3 separate regions of the Homo sapiens genome follow, and regions 2 and 3 are each linked to region 1. Evidence: promoter capture Hi-C in 16 types of primary human blood cells and fetal thymus (Javierre and others, 2016). All regions are on one chromosome and are shown on one strand. Each heading gives the region's core, a stretch centred on a gene start or on the middle of the fragment in contact. The rest is flanking DNA. Distances are from core to core; before and after follow the strand shown. Region 1 holds the start of RASGRP4 (RAS guanyl releasing protein 4). Region 2 holds the start of HNRNPL (heterogeneous nuclear ribonucleoprotein L). Region 3 has its middle 10 kb from the start of LGALS7B.

Evidence for each region. Contacts are between HindIII fragments. The CHiCAGO score rates a contact against its expected background, and 5 or more counts as called.
Region 2: a contact is called between the fragment with the promoter of HNRNPL here and the fragment with the promoter of RASGRP4 in region 1, in 1 of 17 cell types (neutrophils). The highest score is 8.5, in neutrophils.
Region 3: a fragment that was not itself captured here is called in contact with the fragment with the promoter of RASGRP4 in region 1 in 1 of 17 cell types (neutrophils); the score reaches 5.6 in neutrophils.

Annotation. Positions count from the first base shown.
Region 1 is chr19:38,424,639-38,427,784 of GRCh38, forward strand. RASGRP4 (RAS guanyl releasing protein 4) reads right to left here and starts at 1,581. Exons shown (of 17, transcript NM_170604.3): 1 at 1,431-1,581. The coding sequence starts at 1,453. RefSeq lists a silencer at 1,457-1,516 and an enhancer at 2,409-2,923. The HindIII fragment of the contact is 20,985 bases long and covers 1-3,146 here.
Region 2 is chr19:38,848,349-38,851,494 of GRCh38, forward strand. It overlaps HNRNPL (heterogeneous nuclear ribonucleoprotein L), which reads right to left and starts at 1,638. Exons shown (of 13, transcript NM_001533.3): 1 at 1,352-1,638. The coding sequence starts at 1,618. RefSeq lists enhancers at 1-837, 676-765, 838-1,775, 1,926-2,015, 2,346-2,415 and silencers at 966-1,505, 1,516-1,775. The HindIII fragment of the contact is 20,955 bases long and covers 1-3,146 here.
Region 3 is chr19:38,797,921-38,801,066 of GRCh38, forward strand. No RefSeq gene overlaps it. Among named protein-coding and RNA genes, the nearest start is that of LGALS7B, 10 kb to the left of the region's middle. RefSeq lists an enhancer at 1-77. The HindIII fragment of the contact is 582 bases long and covers 1,325-1,906 here.

The DNA of each region.
Region 1 (3,146 bases), core at 331-2,830:
TTCTCAGGCTGGTCTAGAACTCCTGGCTTCAAGTTCTCCTTGTCTTATCCTCCCAAAGTGCTGGGATTAGAGGCATGAGCCATCGTTACTAGAAGGGACATTTTAAAGTATTATATATGTCCTAGGCTAAGGAAGGAGCATTCTAACTAAGTCAGCATTTCCCTAAGTGTGGGCACCCAGCTAGTACCAAAAGCATCACCTGGGAACTGGATATCAATACAGATTCTCAGGTCCCAACCCAGACCTACAAAATCAAACACTTTAAGGCTAAGGGTGGTGGCTCATGCCTCTAATCCCAGCACTTTGGGAGGCCGAGGTGGGTGGATCACGAGGTCAAGAGATCGAGACCATCCTGCCCAACATGGTGAAACCCCATCTCTACTAAAAATACAAAAAAGTAGCTGGGTGTGGTGGTGCACACCTGTAGTCCCAGCTACTTGGGAGGCTGAGGCAGGATGATCGCTTGAACCCGGGAGGCAGAGGTTGCAGTGAGCCAAGATTGTGCCACTGCACTCCAGCCTGGCGGCAGAGCGAGACTCCGTCTCAAAAAAAAAAAACAAAAAAAAAAAAACCAAACACTTTAAAGGTAAGCCCAGCAACCTGTATTTTACAAGCCCTCCAGACAGTTCTGAGGCTCGCTCCAGTTTGAGAACCACTGGTCTAGAGTGTCTCATTGAGTACTTACAGGCCTCTCCGAGGTAGAGGATATGATTGTTCTACTGACAGAAGAAAAACCCGAGACACAGAGCAGTTAAGTGACTTACCTAAGGTCACACAGCTAGGAAATTAGGCAGCCAGGAGTCTACCACTAAACTGCTGGGTGGGGAGGAAAGCCCTTTGCCCATCAGAGTGGTGCTGGGGGTGGCAGGAGGAGTTACCCAGGCTAGGGAGCCACCCACCATCTGCCTCTGTGGGGACAGAAGGGCCAGCTTGCCCAGGAGATGAAGCCCATTCCAGAACCGGCCGCACAGCCAGCCACTAGGCCCTGTCCTGCAGCCCCCTGTAGGGGTCTGGAACAGCCAGGAGTGGTTTAAGAGGCAGGGGAGTCGCCTTGCCCTGTGCCACACTCCCCTCTCCTGGGCCAGGCCCTGCAGGAGCCTGGAGTTTCCAGTCCACGGGGATGGGGAACCAGGAAGCCCCCAGGGAGGGCAGAGACACTCAGCCCAGGCCAGGGATGGAGGTGGGGTGATGAGGAGTGGAAAAGGGGCACGGAGCAGCTCAAACTCCAGGGACAACACGGTACAGATGCCACATACAAGCGACTGCAGCCGTAGCTGGCTCCAGACTCCCTGAAGCATCCACCTGGCCCCCCTGCGCCTGATCCCAAAGAAGTCAGGAATCCTGCCACCCTGGCGAGTGATCTCCCCAGCCCTCCCATGCAGAGGGAGGCCTCAGGGTGCTGCCGGGCTCCCTGGGGAGGGTCCTCTCACCTCTTACTGTCTTTTCTGTTCATGCTTCCCGCGTGGGGTGAGGAGGCCGGGGGTCTTGCAAGAGTAGGGCTCAGCTCCTCCCCTTGCCCAGGACTCCAGCTTCTCAGCCCCTAGGGAGCTGGGGCCTCCTCGGTGCTTGGGAAGGAAAGAGGAACTGCCCCTCCCCACCCACCCTCAGGCCAGGGGGAAGGAAGAGGCTGGGGAGAGACCGAAGGCCCCCCTCCCCCACACGGGGATCCCTTCTGCTGAGGTTTCCGGCATCGCTGGCTCTCCCACCCTCAAGCTCCCCGGCGGGCTCTCTATCTCCCCCATCTTTCGGTGTCGAGACCCGTCACTGTCATACTTCAATAAAAGAAGGGGCTTTTCTTTTTAAAGCATGACTGATATTTATGTAAAAACACACACACTCACTCAAAAAGATAAGTCTGTCTGTCTAGAAGGACATATTCATATATATAATTCATGAAGGTTTGAATGGAAACTCACAAGACATAGTATTTTGTATATTTCTTCATAGGCGTCTCTTATTCCTAGTTTAAGTGATACCATTTGTACCCTGGAAAACATTTTCACTTTCTGACTTTATTGTAACAAACCTCCACATAGCACCTACTGTGTACCACACACTGCTGTAAGGACTTTAAAAATATTAACTCATTTAATCCTCACACAATCCACTGTTACCTTAAAAAAAATTACATACCGGACCAGGCACGGGGGCTCACAGGGGCTCACGCCTGTCATCCAGCACTTTGGGAGGCCAAGGCAGGCGGATCGCTTGAGTCTAAGAGTTTGAGACCAGCTTGAACAACGTGACAAAACCCCGTCTCTACAAAAAATGTAAAACGTTAGGCCGGTGTGGTGGCTCACTCCTGCAATCCCAGCACTTTGGGAGGCCGAGGTGGGCGGATCACCTGAGGTTGGGAGTTTAAGACCAGCCTGAGCAACATGGAGAAACCCCGTCTCTACTAAAAATACAAAATTAGCCAGGCGTTGTGGCACATGCCTGTAATCCCAGCTACTCGGCAGGCTGAGGCAGGAGAATTGCTTGAACCCAGGAGGCGGAGGTTGCCGTGAGCCGAGATCGCGCCATTGCACTCCAGCCTGGGCAACAGGAGCGAAACTCTGTCTCAAAAAAAAAAAGTTAGCTGAGCGTAGTGATGCACACTTGTAGTCCCAGCTACTCAGGAGGCTGAGGCTAGAAGATTGCTTGAGCCCAAGGAGGTCGAGGCTGCAGTGAACCATGATGGTGCCACTGCACTTCAGTCTGCGTGGCAGAGCCAGACCCTGTCTCAAAAAACAAAAAACAAAAAAAAAAAACACACACACACATCAAAAAACATTAGAGATGGAGGTAAAGCCTTGGGGAAGCCCCTCCCCATCCCCTGCCTTTCTTAAGCAGGGTGTGACCAATATGACACGTTGTCGAGTTTCGTCCAAACTGCTGTCTGTGCGTTTAAGCACATCATATAAACATGTGCTCCTAGAAACAGACTTTTCTTTTGAGTGTGCATTTTTTTCTTTTTACCTAAATGTGTCATGCTCGACACTTTTTTTTAAATTGAAGTACAAAAAAGATCACGAATCATTAAGTATTTAGGTTGATGAAATGTCACCAACTGAGCAAACCTGTGTGACATTCATACAAATCCAGACACAGAACATTCTCACCCTCCACAAGCCCCCTGTCTTTCTTCCCAGCACGAATTCCCACAG
Region 2 (3,146 bases), core at 388-2,887, 420 kb after region 1:
TCCCAAAGTGCTGGGATTATAGGCATGAGCCCCCACTCCCGGATGGAAAGTCTTTTAGAAAGACCAGAGACTCCAACCCATACCATTAAGAACCGACTGCTCCTTCCTAAGAGAAGTATCTTACACCCACCGACAAAAGCCTCTGGTCATCAGGAGAAAGATTAACTCTCTTCCGCCTCTCCTGGGCTCTGGGGCCGGCCCCCTGTCTGAGAATCACTGGGCAGAAGTGCGTGGAAGGTGGGTAGAATTGGATTCTATTTCAGGAGCGATCCACGCGAACCACAGGGTGAGGCACTCCCGCCAGGTTAGCAGCTCCCACAAATGGGAGTTCTAACTCCAGCCCTGCCCCTCACTAGCTGTGCCACCTACAGTAATTCACCTCATCTCATCTCTCTCCTGGCCCATTTCCTCCTTTGTAAATCGGGAATCCCAGTATCTCCCCCAACCTCAGGAAGCGTTAAGGATTTTCAATTAAGATGTCTTTAAAATGTGTGGGACAAGGCCAAGATTAAAACGCTAGCAACTCGTAACCCCTAAACCCTGGAAAACCCTGCAAATAGGCGGCCCTGTAAGACTTCAAGATTTTGGAAAGAGTGGGGACTGGGCCCCACTCCAAAAGCAACGACTGGTGTTTTCGGAGGGACTGATTACAGGGGGTCGAAATGCTTCCAACATGGCCAGGAAATAGTTTGGTTTATCAAATCCTCGGTACCCAGTGAATCCCCGGAAACTGTAAGCAAACTTGTGATGGTTTCAAGGCTTCGCTCAACTCCTAAAAGGCTAAAAGTGCATTTCACAAGTCCTCTTCCCATTTTCAATGCCTACAAAAATGAGAGCATCTAGGCTCAAACACATCCATTTCTGTATAGACACAAGGCTGGGCCTTAGAGATTAAGCTGCCATCAGACGGAATTCCCCACTCTAGAGAACAAGGCCGCCGCCCACCCGTTCCCGCTCACCAGGCGCTCCCCTAACCGCCCACGAGGCCGGGCGGGAACACTGCGCCTGCGCATGGAGCCAGCGAAGAAAATGATAAAGGGGAAAAAAACCGGCCGGGCCGCGTGCCCGGCCCCCACACGCCAGCCCGCGGCGCCTGCGCACTGGGCCATTCGCCTCACGAGCTACTTCCTCTGCGCTCCCCCACACCCCGCTCCGGACCCCGCGCACGCGCAGGCGCCTGTCCTCGCGCAAACCCCGCCGTTTGCCCAACGGCCGCCCCTCCCCCACACCGTCAACGACGCGATGGCCTGGGCGCGTGCGCAGAGGCCCCCCTCAAAAAATAAAATGCCCTCAAGCTGGGAAATTGTCCCCCAGTTCCCGGCCTTCCCAGCGCCTAGGGCCCTGGCCTCACCCCACCGCCGCCGCCGCCCGCCGCCCCGGCTCCTCCACCGCCACCGCCGCCGCCTCCGTGCTGGTCGCCGGCGTTGTCAGTCTTGAGCCGCTTAGGGGCCCGGCCGCCCTCACTGCCGCCGCCGTAGTAGCGGCCACCGCCGCCTCCGCCGCCCGCCGCCGCCATCTTCACCATCGCTCCCGACCGCCTCCGCTGCTCGTCCGGCTGCTGCCTCTGCTCCAGCCGCCGACGCCGCTTCTCCGCCCGGGGCAGCAGCCTCCGCGACATGGCGGCGCAGAACCCGCCTCCCCCCGCCTCTCATTGGGGGAGGGACACGCCCGTCACCCGCCGCCCCCACCCGATAGGGGGAGCCACTGGTCCCGCCGCGGGGGGAGGGTAGGCCGCCACACGCCTTGCGCGCTTATTGGACATTGCCCACGCCGTTCTGCAGGAGGGCCCGCCCTTGTTTGTCTGAGACACTCCTTATAGGTGGTCGCTTTCTGCCAGTCTTTCCGTCGACCCCGCCGCCTTAAAATAAAATCCAATTTGATAGGTCGGATTTCTGGCGCTGCTGGCCTCCCTAAAAGCACCTGATAGGAACGGCGCTCTAAACCTCCCAAGAATCTCCGCCTCCCTCCCACTTTCATTGGTCTCCTCGCTAATCCGTCAGCACCAGTCACAATGACGACCTTCCCGCGCCACTTCGCAAGGAGACAAGGAAGCCCCGCCCTTTTTTGGTCTCTCTCCAGTGGTGGTTACAGATGCCCATTCTTCTGCGTCTCCACTGATTGGTCAATGGAGAGTGGAGCGCACCCTCTCACCAGATGGTAGGACTGTTGATACGCTCTGATTGGATGAAATGGGGAGCCCCGCCCCAGGGTAGGCGCTCTTTGGTGCAGTATACGAAACGAGCGAAGGCGAGAACGCATGCGCAAATACGCTTTCAGGCACCGCCCAGAGGCGGGGCCCCCTTATGGAGCGACCGCTGTGTGTGCGCCGGAAGGCTAGACCAAGATTGACAGGAACTCCCAGGGTATCTCTGTCGCCATCACTATACCGTGTTCATTTCTACCTCTAGGAGGAATTGTTAAAATCCCAAATCTGAGCCTTTTCCTCAGTAGAAAACCACTCGCTGCTGCCGACTGTCTTCGGACCCTGTCCAGTTCTAAATTCAGCCGCAACCCCTTTCAGTTTCCCTTGGGAGAAGGCTCTTCCGCGCACTCTCCATGTGTGCCCATGCAGTCCCTTCCACCTGCAATAGTCCACTACCCCTCCTGCAGGAGCTAAGGGCCAAGTCATCTTGTCCGTGCGATCTAAATTAACAGGTCCCTGCCATCCCAGACCCCCAGGATTCCCTTCAAAGCCATAACTCGGGCCAGTGGTTTTCACCTGACAGCTCGACCCCTCTGAGCACCACAGGAGGTCCTGGCCCCGACCCTGGAGAGGGTGGCCACCTACCAAGCGCCCAGTACAGCACCTGGCACAGTGCAAGCCCCCTGCACAGGGGAGGCGTTCTTGTGATCTGTGCCTGCGTCGGGCCTTTCTTCCTCAAGGGCGGGGTAAGACCACCCGCACTGCACCAAGAGAATGTCGGAGGGTATCTCCAGACTCCGGCGAAGCCCAACTGGCGGAGCCTGGGGGGTGGAGAGGAGCGCGCCCCAGTTATCACGCGCAGGCAGCGGGGTCAAACGGGGATTAACCCGGGATCCCGTCCTACGGCATTTAACATTATGGGGCTGCCCGCGCAGGGTGTGGGGGGGAACACCTTAGCGAAGCTATTGGCAAGTGACGATATCGCCAAAGGGGGGAAAAGAAA
Region 3 (3,146 bases), core at 366-2,865, 370 kb after region 1:
GGGGCGGCCGGGCAGAGGCGCCCCTCACCTCCCAGACGGGGTGGCTGGCCGGGGCGGCTGGCCGGGCGGGGGGCTGACCCCCCCACCTCCCTTCCGGACGGGGTGGCTGCCGGGCGGAGACGCTCCTCACTTCCCAGACAGGGTGGCAGCCGGGCGGAGGGGCTCCTCACTTCTCAGATGGGGCGGTTGCCAGGCGGAGGGTCTCCTCCCTTCTCAGACGGGGCGGCCGGGCAGAGACGCTCCTCACCTCCCAGACGGGGCGGCGGGGCAGAGGCGCTCCCCACATCTCAGACGATGGGCGGCCGGGCAGAGACGCTCCTCACTTCCTAGATGGGATGGTGGCCGGGAAGAGGTGCTCCTCACTTCCTAGGTGAGATGGCGGCCGGGCAGAGACGCTCCTCACTTTCCAGACTGGGCAGCCAGGCAGAGGGACTCCTCACGTCCCAGATGATGGGCGGCCAGGCAGAGACGCACCTCACTTCCCAGACGGGGTAGCGGCCGGGCAGAGGCTGCACTCTTGGCACTTTGGGAGGCCAAGGCAGGCGGCTGGGAGGTGGAGGTTGTAGCTGAGATCACGCCACTGCACTCCAGCCTGGGCACCATTGAGCACTGAGTTAACGAGACTCCGTCTGCAATCCCGGCACCTCGGGAGGCCGAGGCTGGCGGATCACTCGCGGTTAGGAGCTGGAGACCAGCCCGGCCAACACAGCGAAACCCCGTCTCCACCAAAAAAATACGAAAACCAGTCAGGCGTGGCGGCGCGCGCCTGCAATCGCAGGCACTCGGCAGGCTGAGGCAGGAGAATCAGGCAGGGAGGTTGCAGTGAGCCGAGATGGCAGCAGCACAGTCCAGAGGGAGACCGTGGAAAGAGGAGAGGGAGAGGGGGAGGGGGAGGGGGAGGGAGCTATTTTGTATTTTTTTAGAAACAGAGTTTTGCTCTGTTGTCCAGACTAGAGTGCAGTGGCCTGATTATGGTTCACGGCAGCGTTGAACTCCTGGGCACAAGCCAACCTCCTGCCTCAGCCTCCCTAGCAGCTGGAACTACAGATGTTTGCTACATCTGGCTTACTTTTTTATTTTTTGTAGAGACAGGGTCTCGCCATGTTGCCCAGGCTGGTCTTGAACTCCTGGGCTCAAGCAATCTTCCCACCTCGTCTCCCAAAGTGCTGGGATTACAGGCTCATGCCATCGCACCCAGCCATCATTTTATTTACTTATCCATTCGAAGTAAATTGTAAACATCAGTATTTGTCACCCCTAAACATTTCAGAAGTACATCATTAGCTAGAGTACAATATTTGTTTATGATTCTTTCCTTGTGGTAAGCTTTGCGGAAAGATTCTTTGTTTATATTGGTGAAATGCACAAATCTAAAATGTACAGTTGGCTGGGCACAGCGACTCACGCCGGTAATCCCGACACTTTGGGCGGCTAGGGCAGGAGCATTGCTTGAGCCCAGGGAGTCGAGATCAGCCTGAGCAACATAAGGAGACCCCCGTCTTTATAAATATATATATTTTTAATTAGCTGGGCATGGTGGTGCACACCTGTGGTCCCAGCTACCTGGGAGGCTGGAGTGGGAGGATCACTTGAGTCCCAGAGGTTGAGCCTGCAATGAGCTGTGATCACACCACTGCACTCCAGCCTGGGCAATAGAGTGAGATCCTGTCTCAATAAAAACAAAAATAAAAAGAATTTAATAAAATAAAATATACAGCCAATGAGTTCTAACAAATGCACAGAGCTGTGTGACCTAGGGTATGGAACATATCCATCACTCCAGAAAGTTGCTTTAGACATGCAAACATTTAAACTTAGTTTGAGTCATGCTAATAACCGGTTTTACAGCATTTTATCCAATTAATAATATAGAGGGTTTAATTCGTCACTTCATGGTTTGTCCTGAAGCTTGCTAACCCATTACATCAGAAAGCCAACCCAGCTAATTTGAAAGTGGATGAGTCAGTGACTGGTGAATAAGTAAACACGAGAGTGAATAAAGAATAGATGGATGAATGAAAATGTAAAGAAATCAGCTGGGGGCAGTGGCTCACGCCTGTAATCCCAGCACTTTGGGAGGCCAAGGTGGGTGTATCACGAGTCAAGAGATTGAGACCATCCTGGCCAACATGGTGAAACCCTGTTTCTACTAAAAATACAAAAATTAGCTGGGCATGGTGGCGCATGCCTGTAGCCCCAGCTACTCAGGAGGCTGAAGCAGGAGAATCACTTGAACCCATGAGGCGGAGGTTGCAGTGAGCTGAGATGGCACCACTGCACTCCAGCCTGGCGACAGAGCAAGACTCCGTCTCAAAAAAAGAAAGAAAAAAAAGAAAGAAATCAATGAATGGGCCAGGCACGGTGGCCCACGCCTGTAATCCCAGCACTTTGGGAGGCGGAGGCAGGCGCACCACCTGAGGTCAGGAGTTCAAGACCAGCCTGGCCAACATGGCAAAACCCTGTCTCTACTAAAAATACAAAAATTAGCTGGGCGTGGTGGTGGGTGCCTGTAATTCCAGCTACTCAGGAGGCTGAGGCAGGAGAATTGCTTGAACGGGAGATGGCAGTTGCAGTGACCTGAGACAGCACCATTGCACTCCAGCCTGGATGACAAGAGCAAAACTCTGTCTCAAAAAAAAAATAAATAAAAATAAAAACAAGAAATCAATGAATGATGAAATCAGCAAAAGAGTGATTTGATGAAAGCATGGTTGGGTGGACAGATGGAGAGAAGAAAATATAAATGAATGGATAACTTTCCAGCTTGAGTTGGAAAAGGGTTGGAAAAAAATAGATAATGAAGAGATGAATGGATAATTGGATAGAAAGAGATGGAAAAGTGATGAATTGCTGAATGGAGGGATGAATGGGCATATGGAGGACAAATGGATGACTGTGATGGAAAGCAGAGAATTACATGGACAAATGGAGGGATGAATAAATGAATGGATGGACGAAAGTTAGACTTCGTAAGGATGGCTGAATGAATAGACAGATAGACTGGTATATGGTTAGATGTTTGGATGGATGGAGAAGATGATGGATGATCAGATGCATGGGTGATGGATAAAAGGTTGAATGAAAGAATGGATGGATAAACAGCTGGATAGAGCTAGACAGACTGGTGAGTAGATGAATAGTTGCAT